3 separate regions of the Homo sapiens genome follow, and all the other regions are linked to region 1. The links are contacts of gene promoters, found by promoter capture Hi-C in blood cells and fetal thymus (Javierre and others, 2016). All regions are on one chromosome and are shown on one strand. The core of a region is centred on a gene start or on the middle of the fragment in contact, and the rest is flanking DNA. Distances in the headings are between cores, read along the strand shown.

The links. The method cuts DNA at HindIII sites, captures the fragments that hold promoters and counts their contacts. A CHiCAGO score of 5 or more calls a contact.
Region 2: a fragment that was not itself captured here is called in contact with the fragment with the promoter of ORC4 in region 1 in 6 of 17 cell types (fetal thymus, naive CD4 T cells, total CD8 T cells and 3 more); the score reaches 10.4 in fetal thymus.
Region 3: a contact is called between a fragment that was not itself captured here and the fragment with the promoter of ORC4 in region 1, in 4 of 17 cell types (naive CD4 T cells, naive CD8 T cells, activated CD4 T cells and 1 more). The highest score is 8.0, in naive CD4 T cells.

Annotation. Positions count from the first base shown.
Region 1 is chr2:148,018,844-148,022,483 of GRCh38, reverse strand. ORC4 (origin recognition complex subunit 4) reads left to right here and starts at 1,747. Exons shown (of 14, transcript NM_181741.4): 1 at 1,747-1,851. MBD5 (methyl-CpG binding domain protein 5) reads right to left here and starts at 1,393. Exons shown (of 14, transcript NM_001378120.1): 1 at 800-1,393. RefSeq lists enhancers at 1,226-1,325, 1,505-2,102 and a silencer at 1,676-1,835. The HindIII fragment of the contact is 3,631 bases long and covers 1-2,689 here.
Region 2 is chr2:148,541,424-148,545,179 of GRCh38, reverse strand. No RefSeq gene overlaps it. Among named protein-coding and RNA genes, the nearest start is that of EPC2, 100 kb to the left of the region's middle. RefSeq lists a silencer at 2,179-2,372. The HindIII fragment of the contact is 2,940 bases long and covers 144-3,083 here.
Region 3 is chr2:148,559,844-148,563,362 of GRCh38, reverse strand. No RefSeq gene overlaps it. Among named protein-coding and RNA genes, the nearest start is that of EPC2, 83 kb to the left of the region's middle. RefSeq lists an enhancer at 2,142-3,093. The HindIII fragment of the contact is 2,089 bases long and covers 1,153-3,241 here.

The sequences.
Region 1 (3,640 bases), core at 498-2,997:
TAGCTAATATTCTCATCATATGGAAAATAAGTATCAGGAACGTATGTGGGAACAGACAATAGCAGTGGCATTTAAACTTTAAGCATTTTAGAGCTTTGGACTTTATATACTGATATATGAAACAGACATTTAACCAAAAAAAAAGCAATAATGCAAGTCAAAACCTAACCAAAGGCCTCTACCAACTAAAAATTTGAAATTTTCCATGGAAGTCAGACAAAACGAAAAAATGGAAAATGAAACCCTTAAAGCAAAAACCAATCAAGTCTTCCAACACTGAAGTCAATATCCAAATCTCATACAGGACCAAAAAGGGGAAAACACTCAGGTCTACAAATGGATAAGCAGTTCCAATACAATCCAGATCCCGACATTTTCCCACTCAGAAACAAATGCAGTGGAGCTTTTCCTGGAGAAAAAGAGCTCTCCAATGAATTTTTTTTAAGTGACATCTAGAAAGTGTGCCTCTTTCTGTCTCTTTCCCTGGCGCCTCATTGGAGGAAGGAGGGGGTTGTTTTTGTATTCTCCCCCACTGGAGCAAGACACAATCAGATGTTAGATGGAGGAGAGAAACCACTTTTGACAACAGCAAATAAAAATAAAAGTGCCCTTCCTCCCCTGACAGGATGGGCACCCCACCTCACACACCCCTCCCTACTCCAACCCCTCCTTCACCCCCCCCAGCACCACCCCCTCCTCACCCCGGAGCTCCACTGCGTATGTGGTTTGGTGCTACTGTTGCCCCGGAGTGAAAGTCAGAGCCAGAGGAAGGCAATGAAGCCCCCACAGACACACTTACCTTTCCTGCCCCCCACTTTTGAGTGCCTTCCCTGGAGCTGTGGAGGATGACACAAAGGGTAATAAAGGGGGGGAGTGGAGGAGGAGGAGGCGAAGGAGGAGGAGGAGAGCTGGGGAAGTGGCTGCTCCTGGGTGTAGTGAGATGTCTCCAGCCAGGGCCAAGCAGCAGCAGTAGCAGCAGCAGCAGTAGCAGCAGCAGCAGCAACAGCAGCAGCAGCAGCAACAGCAGCAGCAAAGGGTCTGTGTTGCTAAGAGGCTTTTGGTTTCTTTCTCTCCTCCTCTCACGGCCAAAGAGGAGGAGGGTGGAGGGAGGGAGGCGAGTTGGAGGGGTGAGGGGGTAGGAGTCGTGGATGGGGGTTTTCGAAGAAGAAGAAACTCCTTCTCCTCTCTCAGGCTCAATCCCCCTCTCAGGGCTCAGGGCTGGAGGGTGGGGGAAGGAACTCAGCCGCCTTCCCCCCACCCCCCTGAATTCAAGGTTGAAGTGGGGTAGAATTAGTGTCCTGTCCCTTTAAAAATAGAAATAAAAGGTGCCCCCCCTCTGCCACTGCCTCTCTCTTCATCATCAGCTGCTGCTGCTGCTGGGGTCTCTCTGCTTGGGGGGGAGGGGGGGTTCGGGTAGAAGAGACGGGAGGCACTCACTGCGCATGTCCCTCTCTGACGGGTGGCTGGTTGGTTGAAGGCAGGAGGAGGGGGAGGGGAGGAAATGAGCTATTTTCCCAGAAGGCGTCGAGGCGCTAGCGACCCGGAAGACATTGTAGCGGGAGGTACAGGAGCGGGGGCGGGGAGGAGGAGGAAGTCGCTACGCTTTTAACACCCCCAGCTCCCTCCTCCTTCCTAAGGGAAAGTGGAGGAACGGAAGTGGGCGTGGACGGAGACGAAAGGAGGTCACGTGTTTGGGCGGGAGAGGGGCGGGGTGGGAGAGGTAGTGCGTGCGCGGGGCATGCCGGGAGTGGTTGTGTACGGTCCGCAGCGGCAGGTGAAGTCTAGCAGAGGACGCGGCCAGGCGATTCGGTGAAGCGATTCCTGCAGGCGTTGGTTCCCCTCTTTGACCTGGTAAATGCAGGCTTTTATGCGAGAGGTAATGGTGGGGGTAAACTTGCTGCAAACGAAGGCCAGGGGCGTCGGTGGCGCAAGGTGAATCGAAAGTGGGAGGATGGAAGGCTGTGGAGATTGGGAATTGGGAAGGGGGCAGGCTTGTATAGGCCGGGAAGGCCAGGACCAGGCGAGCTCCGTCTTGTGGCCACTCCCGCCCCGTGAGCTTGCCGAGGAATCCTTGACAAGTGCAGGGATCCTGAGTCTACCTCTGCATCGGGGTAGTAGGTGAGGAGCGTGACGGTCCGAGTGTAAGAGAGAAGGGAACTGTGAAGCCTCAGCAATTGACCCTCATGACTGCAGGACGGAGGACTTCTATCTAGGGACAGAGACAAGTCCTCTGTATGCATTTTGACCAGATGCATCACACGCGTTGCTCATATTGGATATTGCGCCCTTCATGCCTTACCTCTCAACCCTCCCTGGTATTCTGGAGTGGCTTTGGGGAAGGAGCAGGCAGGGAAGTCTTGAGTGGAGCTTCCCTCCATGTCTTGCGTTGTTGCTACAACACAAAGCCTTTGCTTTTTCTCGGAGAGGGATGTGGGATTGTGTAGTCCTTAATGTTGAGTTCTACGATTGATGAAGGAGAAGGGACGTGATCAAAGTTTCCCCTTATAGTGTAGATGAGAGTTTTAAAAGGACTGTTTTGTCAAGTTTCTTTGGTTACTATTCTTAGTTTTTGAGCCTTTGGTTTCCCAAATGCCAGCTGTTTTTGCTGAAAATAATGAATTTCTATCATAAAATTAGAATTAACTCAAAATATTTAAGAAAGGATTTATAAATTTACATTAGTAAAGCTTTTATAGTGAAACAGTGCTGGTTCTTTTTCATTGTTTTCATACAATCAATATAAAGCATCACAGTCTCAATATGTTTTGTAAAGATATTTTGAAGGAATATCATCTTTGTATGTTTTTTAAAAACCAAGAATCTAAAATTCTTCGTATTTATTATGTTGGTACTTAATTCTGTTGGGTGGGTTCTTTTTGTTTGTTTTTTGTTTTGAGACGGAGTCTCGCTCTGTCTCCCAGACGAGTGCAGTGGCGCGATCTCGGCTCACTGCAACCTCTGTCTCCTGGGTTCAAGCAGTTCTCCTGCCTCACCCTCCCGAGTAGCTGAAACTACAGGCATGTGCCACCACGCCTGGCTAATTTTTTTGTGTTTTCAGTAGGGACGGGGTTTCACCATGTTGGTCAGGCTGGTCTCGATCTCTTGACCTCAAATGATCCTCCCGCCTCGGCCTCCCAAAGTGCTGGGATTACAGGCGTGAGCCACCGCGCCCGGCCGGTGTAGGTTCTTTAGGTGTACACTATCAGTTAAAGTTACTAATTTTCCACGTTTTGCTTTCTGTAAGTTTGGGCAGTGGACCCCGTTTATGCATCATTGCTTAGCCCTTAGTATCTTCTGTATTGTGTACGGTAATCATGTCCGATGGAATCAAAACTAGACTCCTGTGCTTTAAAATTTTCTTTGTAGTGTAACCAATTGTCTGTCTTTATAGTGTAACCAATTGTCTGCCACTTTGTAATGAAAAAAAAAAATACCAGCAAGGCAGTTAATGTGCCTTAGCTACAATTTTAAATATTTTGTGTCTTTTTCCATACATTTAGTATTTAAGCATACAAACATCGATACATAGTATAATGAAAAACTATAAAGTGTGAACTCTATGTAAGCGCTGCCACAGTCAAGAACTAGAACGTCTGTGGCACCTGAGAAGCTCCCCTCTCCATTCTATTCCTGATCATCC
Region 2 (3,756 bases), core at 364-2,863, 520 kb before region 1:
AATATGTGTGTACATTCATAAGGGGGGCCTCCCACAACTCCCTAACTCAAAAGAGTGACTCTCATGGGGATTTCAGGCACCAAGACAGATGGACAGGGGAGACTTGCCTAATGTCATAGGCAGAAGCCCTGTGAGTAGAAGCTTACGTCTTCTGATTACAGATCCCAGTGCTGTGACCACACTGGCCGAATTAAGCACAGAGCTGATGCTCAAACCACATTTGCTAAATGAATGAATGAATTTTTGGGTCTTCCACTGCGTGATGATCTGCCTCAAATACATCAAGAAAAAAGGCAGGATAAAATGATCAATTAAAATAAATCTAATGGCCTTGGGGTAAGCTATCAAACCTTTTTGGATCTCTATTTCCTTATTTTGAAAGATAAGGACAAGACTGATCTCTAAGAACTTACCCTTGAATGCATTGCAGAAAGAAATTTTGTCACATATAAGAAAGTTGGAAATTTGAACACTGACTACATAATTTGAAGATGTTAAGAAATTACTTTTAATTAGTTTTGATTAATCACTTTTTAGGTGAGCTATGATTTTGTCTTAAAAAGAGTCTTTGTCTTTTAAAGTTACATGCTGAAATAATTTGTCTTTTAAAGTTACATGCATGAAATAAAGTTACATGCTGAAATGATATGATGTCTGGGATGTTTGTTTTGTTTTGAGACAGAGTCTTACTCTGACACCCAGGCTGGAGTGCAGTGGTACGATCTTGGCTCACTATAGCCTGGACCTCCTAGAGTCAAGCAGCAAACCTCTCACCTCAGCCTCCAAAGTAGCTGGGACTACAGGTGTGTGTCACCATGCCCAGCCAATTTTTGTTTGTTTGTAGACATGGGGTTTTGCCATGTTGCCCAGGCTGGGCTTGAACTCCTGGGCTCAAGAAATCTGCCTGCCTTGGCCTCCCGAAGTTCTGGGATTATAGGCCTGAGCCACTGTGCCTGGCTGATATCTGAGATTTTAATACATTGGAGAGGAACGTGGGCAGGAAAATTGATTTAAAAAATAGGCTCTGAGTTGATAATTATTGAGACTGGATTATGTGTACAGGATGATCTGTTATGCTATTTTGTCCACTTTTTATATGTTTGAAAATTTCCATGATAAAGTGTTTAAAAAGTAAATAAAACAATATTTTTCTGTAGCCCTGTAGTGTCCATCACAGTCAGAGCTTGTACTGGGCCCTGGGATGGTCACCCAGAATCTCTTGCTCCTTTGCTGTTTCCTAAAATAACCGCTTGATTTCATGCAGGTGTCATCTCCTCACACACAGCCCTGTGTCTCAAGGGAAGGTGACCCATTCCCACCTCCAGCCCTGATTAGTCTCAGCCCATCAGAGTGAGCCCAACCTTCCTGCCGATGATTAGTTCTAGAAGGACGCGGCATAGAAGGAGAGGTTTGGTGGGTCTCTGAGAACTGTTCTCCCTACTCTCCTACTCAGCTAGACAGGAGGGAGAAAGGAGGTGGCCTCAGGTACCACCAGCAACCATGCTGCAACCTGGAAGAAAACCAGCTTCAGGATGAAGCCAATGTGCTAAGCAGCAGAGCAGAAAGCTGGGAGAAGCCCAAGTCCTCGGCAGCAGTGTTGAGCTGACAGATCAAACAACCCTGAAGGCCACCTTATCGCTCAATTCCCCTCAAGGATAAATTTTCATCCTTTTTTCTTTCTTTCTTTTTTTTTTTTTTTGAGGCAGAGTCTCACTCTGTTGCCCAGGCTAGAGTGCAGTGGTACAATCTCGGCTCACTGCAACCTCCACCTCCCGGATTCAAGCGATTCTCCTGTCTCAGTCTCCCGAGTAGCTGGGACTACAGGCTCCCAACACCACGCCTGGCTAATTTTTGTATTTTTCATAGAGATGGGTTTTATCATTTTGGCCAGGCTGATCTCAAACTCCTGACCTCAAGTGATAAGCCCAACTCAGCCTCCTATGTCATAAATTTTCATATCCTTCAAGCCACTGTGTTTTTTACAACAAAGAGATAAATCTTTGTAAGTAACCAAGACTCTTCTAACAAACCCAAGGCTGAGTGAGCATTCTCCCTAACTGGTGGAATGAGCTATTAAACCTTTTTGGATCTCCGTTTCCTTATTTTGAGAGAAAAGGGAGGGGACCCCGGATCCTGCAGTCACCCGTGTTGTTTGGAATGCAGGAGGCAGGCAGTGGTACGAGGGGTCTCTCAGAAGGTGGAAACATTGGCATACCCTGGCACCATTTCGACCCAGACAGTTTTTCCTAATGTCACACCATCCTGCTTTGAATGACATTAACTTGAAGTTCCGGACACAAGATTAAGTGTCACCTTCCAAGGGGCTGATAGGAAACTTGTGCCCGGCCTTTGCTGCTGTGGATTGCTGTGAGAATGAGACAAAGGAGGGAACCCTCTTAGAGGCCTAGCAGGCACCTCGCCATCGCCAAAAAACATGGAAACAAAGGAAACTCCTGGGTTTCCTCAAGGGGAATTCTAGGCACCTAGCTGGCCCTGAGAAGTAAGTAAGCAACTTGATAAGCAAGAAGGTAAATAGTAGGTTAAAAGAACAGCCAAGGAGCTAGAATCATGGGATGTTTGGTTCCCTCTAGAAATTAAAGAACGCATCTTAACACGTGCCCCCGAGTGGTTGTTTAGACACCCAGTCTCCTGCAGACTTTGTTTAGACACCCAGTCTCCTGCAGACTTTGCATCCACTGGCACAAAGACCTCAGATAAGGGGGAACTGAGGACTGAACTCTGACTACTGTCAATTTCTTCCTCAGGGCCCTGGAGGAGGTCACAACCCTAGGCCAGAACTAACACTCTTTCCTACTGATCCCAAGTTTATTTTATTATTTTATTTTTTTATCTTAGATAGAGTCTCACTCTATCGTCCAGGCTGGAGGGCAGTGGTGATCATAGCTCACTGCAGCCTCCAATTCCTGAGTTCAAGCAATCCTCCTGCCTCAACCTCCTGAGAGCTGTGATTATGAGTGTGAGCCGTTGCACCAATTTATATATGTATGTGTGTGTGTGTGTGTGTGTAGACAGGGTCTTGCTTTGTTGCCCAGGCTGCTGAGCTCAAATTTTTAGACAAAGCTTTGCCTCCTGAACCACTTGCAGATCAGAAAATCTTTGAATCCACCTCTGACCCTCTTTGAGATGTCAAGCCTTTTTAGGTCAAATCAGTGTATAACCTCCATGCACTGATTTATGACTTTGCCTGTAACCTCTGCCTCTTCGCTTTTAAAAACCCTTACCTGTAAGCCATCAGGGAGTTCAGGGAGTTAGCTGCCCAATTCTCCTTGTTTGGCGCCCTGCAATAAATGCCTCACTTTCTCTTGCTGCAATCCTGATACCAGTGTTTGGCTTTGCTGCAGCGGGTAAATGAACCCCAGTTTAGTTCAATAACAAATACCTATGGCACCCTTTCCCTGACAGAATATTCATAACAGAAATGACGCAAATCTATTTTTATTATCATGAGATGCTGAGAAAGGGCATTAGCAGGAGTAGGAGGCTATACTAAGGCTTGGCTGTCGGACCAGGAGTTCCCGTGGCAGGGGAGGGCGTGCAGCCTGCAAAGGGCTCTGGCTTGTCCCCCATATTAGAGATGGAGTTGCTGGTCTTCCGCCTCCTCCAAGTCTCATGCTTAAGTGGACTTGAAATCCAGCGGATGGTATCATTGAACTGAGCCGCAGCAAGGCTGAAATTTAGGGGTCATTCATAAAGCAGAGAGCTCTCCTTTGGTTTCCAGTAAGAGCTGGTGTTGAG
Region 3 (3,519 bases), core at 948-3,447, 540 kb before region 1:
AGTTTTTTCCAATTCTGTGAAGAAAGTCGTAGCTTGATGGGGATGGCATTAAATCTATAAATTACCTTGGGCAGTATGGCCATTTTCATGATATTGATTCTTCCTATCCATGAGCATGGAATGTTCTTCCATTTGTTTGTGTCCTCTTTTATTTCGTTGAGCAGTGGTTTGTAGTTCTCCTTGAAGAGGTCCTTCACATCCCTTGTAAGTTGGATTCCTAGGTATTTTATTCTCTTTGAAGCAATTGTGAATGGGAGTTCCCTCATGATTTGGCTCTCTGTTTGTCTGTTATTGGTGTATAAGAATGCTTGTGATTTTAGCACATGGATTTTGTATCCTGAGACTTTGCTGAATTTGCTTATCAGCTTAAGGAGATTTTGGGCTGAGACAATGGGGTTTTCTAGATATACAATCATGTCATCTGCAAACAGGGACAATTTGACTTCCTCTTTTCCTAATTGAATACCCTTTATTTCTTTCTCCTGCCTGATTGCCCTGGCCAGAACTTCCAACACTATGTTGAATAGGAGTGGTGAGAGAGGGCATCCCTGTCTTGTGCCAGTTTTCAAAGGGAATGCTTCCAGTTTTTGCCCATTCAGTATGATATTGGCTGTAGGTTTGTCATAAATAGCTCTTATTATTTTAAGATACATCCCATCAATACCTAGTTTATTGAGAGTTTTTAGCATGAAGGGCTGCTGAATTTTGTCGAAGGCCTTTTCTGCATCTATTGAGGTAATCATGTGGTTTTTATCTTTGATTCTATTTATATGATGGATTATGTTTATTGATTTGCGTAGATTACATACTAAATTTTAACACATTGTACTCACCAAAGGATTAAATGCTGCTGTCAGATTAAATGGTTTTGTGGAGAACTTGGACTAAATCTTGCTGGCACAGCAATTGTAAAGGAGAACAGTTTCTAACAAGATTACCTACTCTGAAGAATCTCCTCAAATTTCTAGATGAGCTGTTATTAAAAAATATATGTATTTCCAACTATTTGTGCATACCAGGTTTAAGAGATAAAATGCAGAAATAAATTTGGAAGCTGAAGCTGATAAAAGACTACTGTCATCTATAGCACTCAATTTCATATTTTTGTATCTATTGAACAGTCTAATTGATTTTACAAATAAATGTTAAGCTTAAACTTATAAATTTGAATGAAATACTGATTTTCATTTGGGGGAAATGAAAAGGCCTGTGCTACAAACAAATAGGCCTGGGCACTGGGACGGGAAGATCCATGACCCGCCCCTTTAAGTGTTCATGCAAACCAGCAGCAAAGGCAGCATGGAGGGCTTGGCAAAAATGCAGAATCCCAGGCCCCTGCCCAGACTTTCTGAATCAGGATCTGCCTTTCAGTAAGATTCCCCCACACATGAGAGTTTGAGAAGTGCCTGTCCATAGGACTTCACAGAAGAGAAATCAAGTAGGGCTGGTATAAACGGTGAGGACTTCTGGCACTGTGGGATTTCTGCAGGGCATGATTCAAATTCAACAGACAAGGACATATGGAGTGGACATTCCAGGTGAGGAAAGGGGCAATACGAGGAGGCTGGGAATAGACCACCCATGCCAGACAGAGGTTCTAGTAGCAGGACACTTAGGAACAGCTTGAGGAAGTGGGGGAAGAGGCAACTTGCGGCTGAGGCTGGCAGCCAGCCAGGTCCCCACTTCGGGCTGCCCCTTACCTTGTGGATGGAGCAGCGTCCGCCGGAATTCCAGGCCAGGATCGCCAACCGCTTAGCCACCATGAACCAATTAAACCTCCAGCAGCCCCAGGAAGTCGGAGCTCATTATCTCCAATGTCTACATGGGGAGCCGACCACTTCCGAAGCTGTAATTACCGGAGGTCAGAGGGCACCTGAGGCAGGAAGTCTGGTCTGTCCCAGCACATTCTTGGCGCTCCCAGGTTTTCCCTCTGAGGAACACAGAGGAGGAGATGCCCTCCGCCGTTGGAAGTCCTTCCACAGTTTAAGGGGCTTCAAGGAGCCCTAGCTGGGGGAAAAAGAACCTTCGACCATCTTTACTCAAGCCAGGCGCTGTGAAAAGAACCTCCCATACAGTAGCCTCGTGCCTGGGAGGGAGCAGGCTACGGGGCGGGTTTGCTGGAGAGATGCCGGCCTGGGGCAGCCTTAGGGAGGAAGGAATTGGAGGCAGCTGTAGAGGGGTTCTGCAGGAAGAGGGCTCCAGCGGGGCTATTCCAGAGAGAGAGGTTGGAACTATTAATATAATAGCTATCCAATCAGGCTGTGAGGGAACTACAATTGAGTCAAGAAATTATCTTGTTTCCTTAGGAACACAAACAGGCCTACGAAGGCTTACCTGTCTCCTGAATTCTCACAGATGCCCTGGGAAAAAGGCTTTGCAGCTTGGCTGGTGGCCTGAAGCACGAGCTCTGAGACCTCTTGACCAGCCCTGATTTTGCTAGGAGCCTGTCCTGGGGCCCGCTTTCTCTTGACCTCCTGAGAGGTCTGGTGAGGTTTCTAAGTCAAGGCAACGGACTAGATTCCAGTAGAAGGACAAGTGTCCAAGGCATGAAGGGGAACGTCAGGGCCAGTTGCTCAGTCCCTTCAGGGCCACCCACAGCCGCCCTGGTCCTAGAGGCTGGGCTGCCTCTCCCCTGCCCAGCATTGCTCAGAGCATATGTTAACATCCAGCTGGGGCCCTTATCTCAGCCTGGAGACAGATTCATCAACTCCTGGAGGCCAAGGGCCAGCTTGAAGCCCTGCCTCCCCGAGATGCTGCCCCTTCGATTCCTGCTTAATCACTCCCAGCTGTTCAGGATCCTGAGTTAGCACAGATTTTCTGGGAAGAAAAGGCTCTGAAACTTGCACCATGTATTAGGTGGCTGGGGACAGTTTTGGGAACACAGCCAGTGCTGTTGGTGCCAGTCAGGGCTGCACTACAGTCCTGGGCATCTCCACAAAGAGTGGAAGAAAAAGGCTGAGGCTGCCTGTGGAGAGACCTGAAAAGTCACTCCCATCCCTTGGCCGGTCTCAAGCAAGAGATCTGCCCCTGAGTTTAAGGAATGATCTTTGGGATAGGTCTCAGTACACAGAGTCTAGGACTTCACCAGAACAGAAGAACATAGGTGTTTTGTTTCTCCTCCAAACTCCTGAGACTTATTCTTCTGGTATACGAAGAAATAGTTCCTTACAGCTGCAAAAACCCAGGGAGAGGATAACGTTAAGCTAAGAACATCTTAATATAGGATGCACATTTGGAAGCTTCTGCAAGGTACAAGCTAGCAAGGCAGGGACAGAGGAGGTAGTGATGGTGGGTAGAGGTGTGGTGATAAATGGGGAGGCCCCAAGTTCATCGTGATACACTCAGTTAAGGGATGCCACAGGTAGGGTGCTCTTCAGTCAGAAGGCAGTGAGATGCACCAGAATCCCTGGAGAAGCACTTCAGGGGGAGGAGGGCAGGCTCGAGAAAGGAAGAAAAGGAAGCTCAAAGCTGATGGGTTAGACCAGCCCAAGCCCAGGTATCTGCTCCTGGCTATTTTGG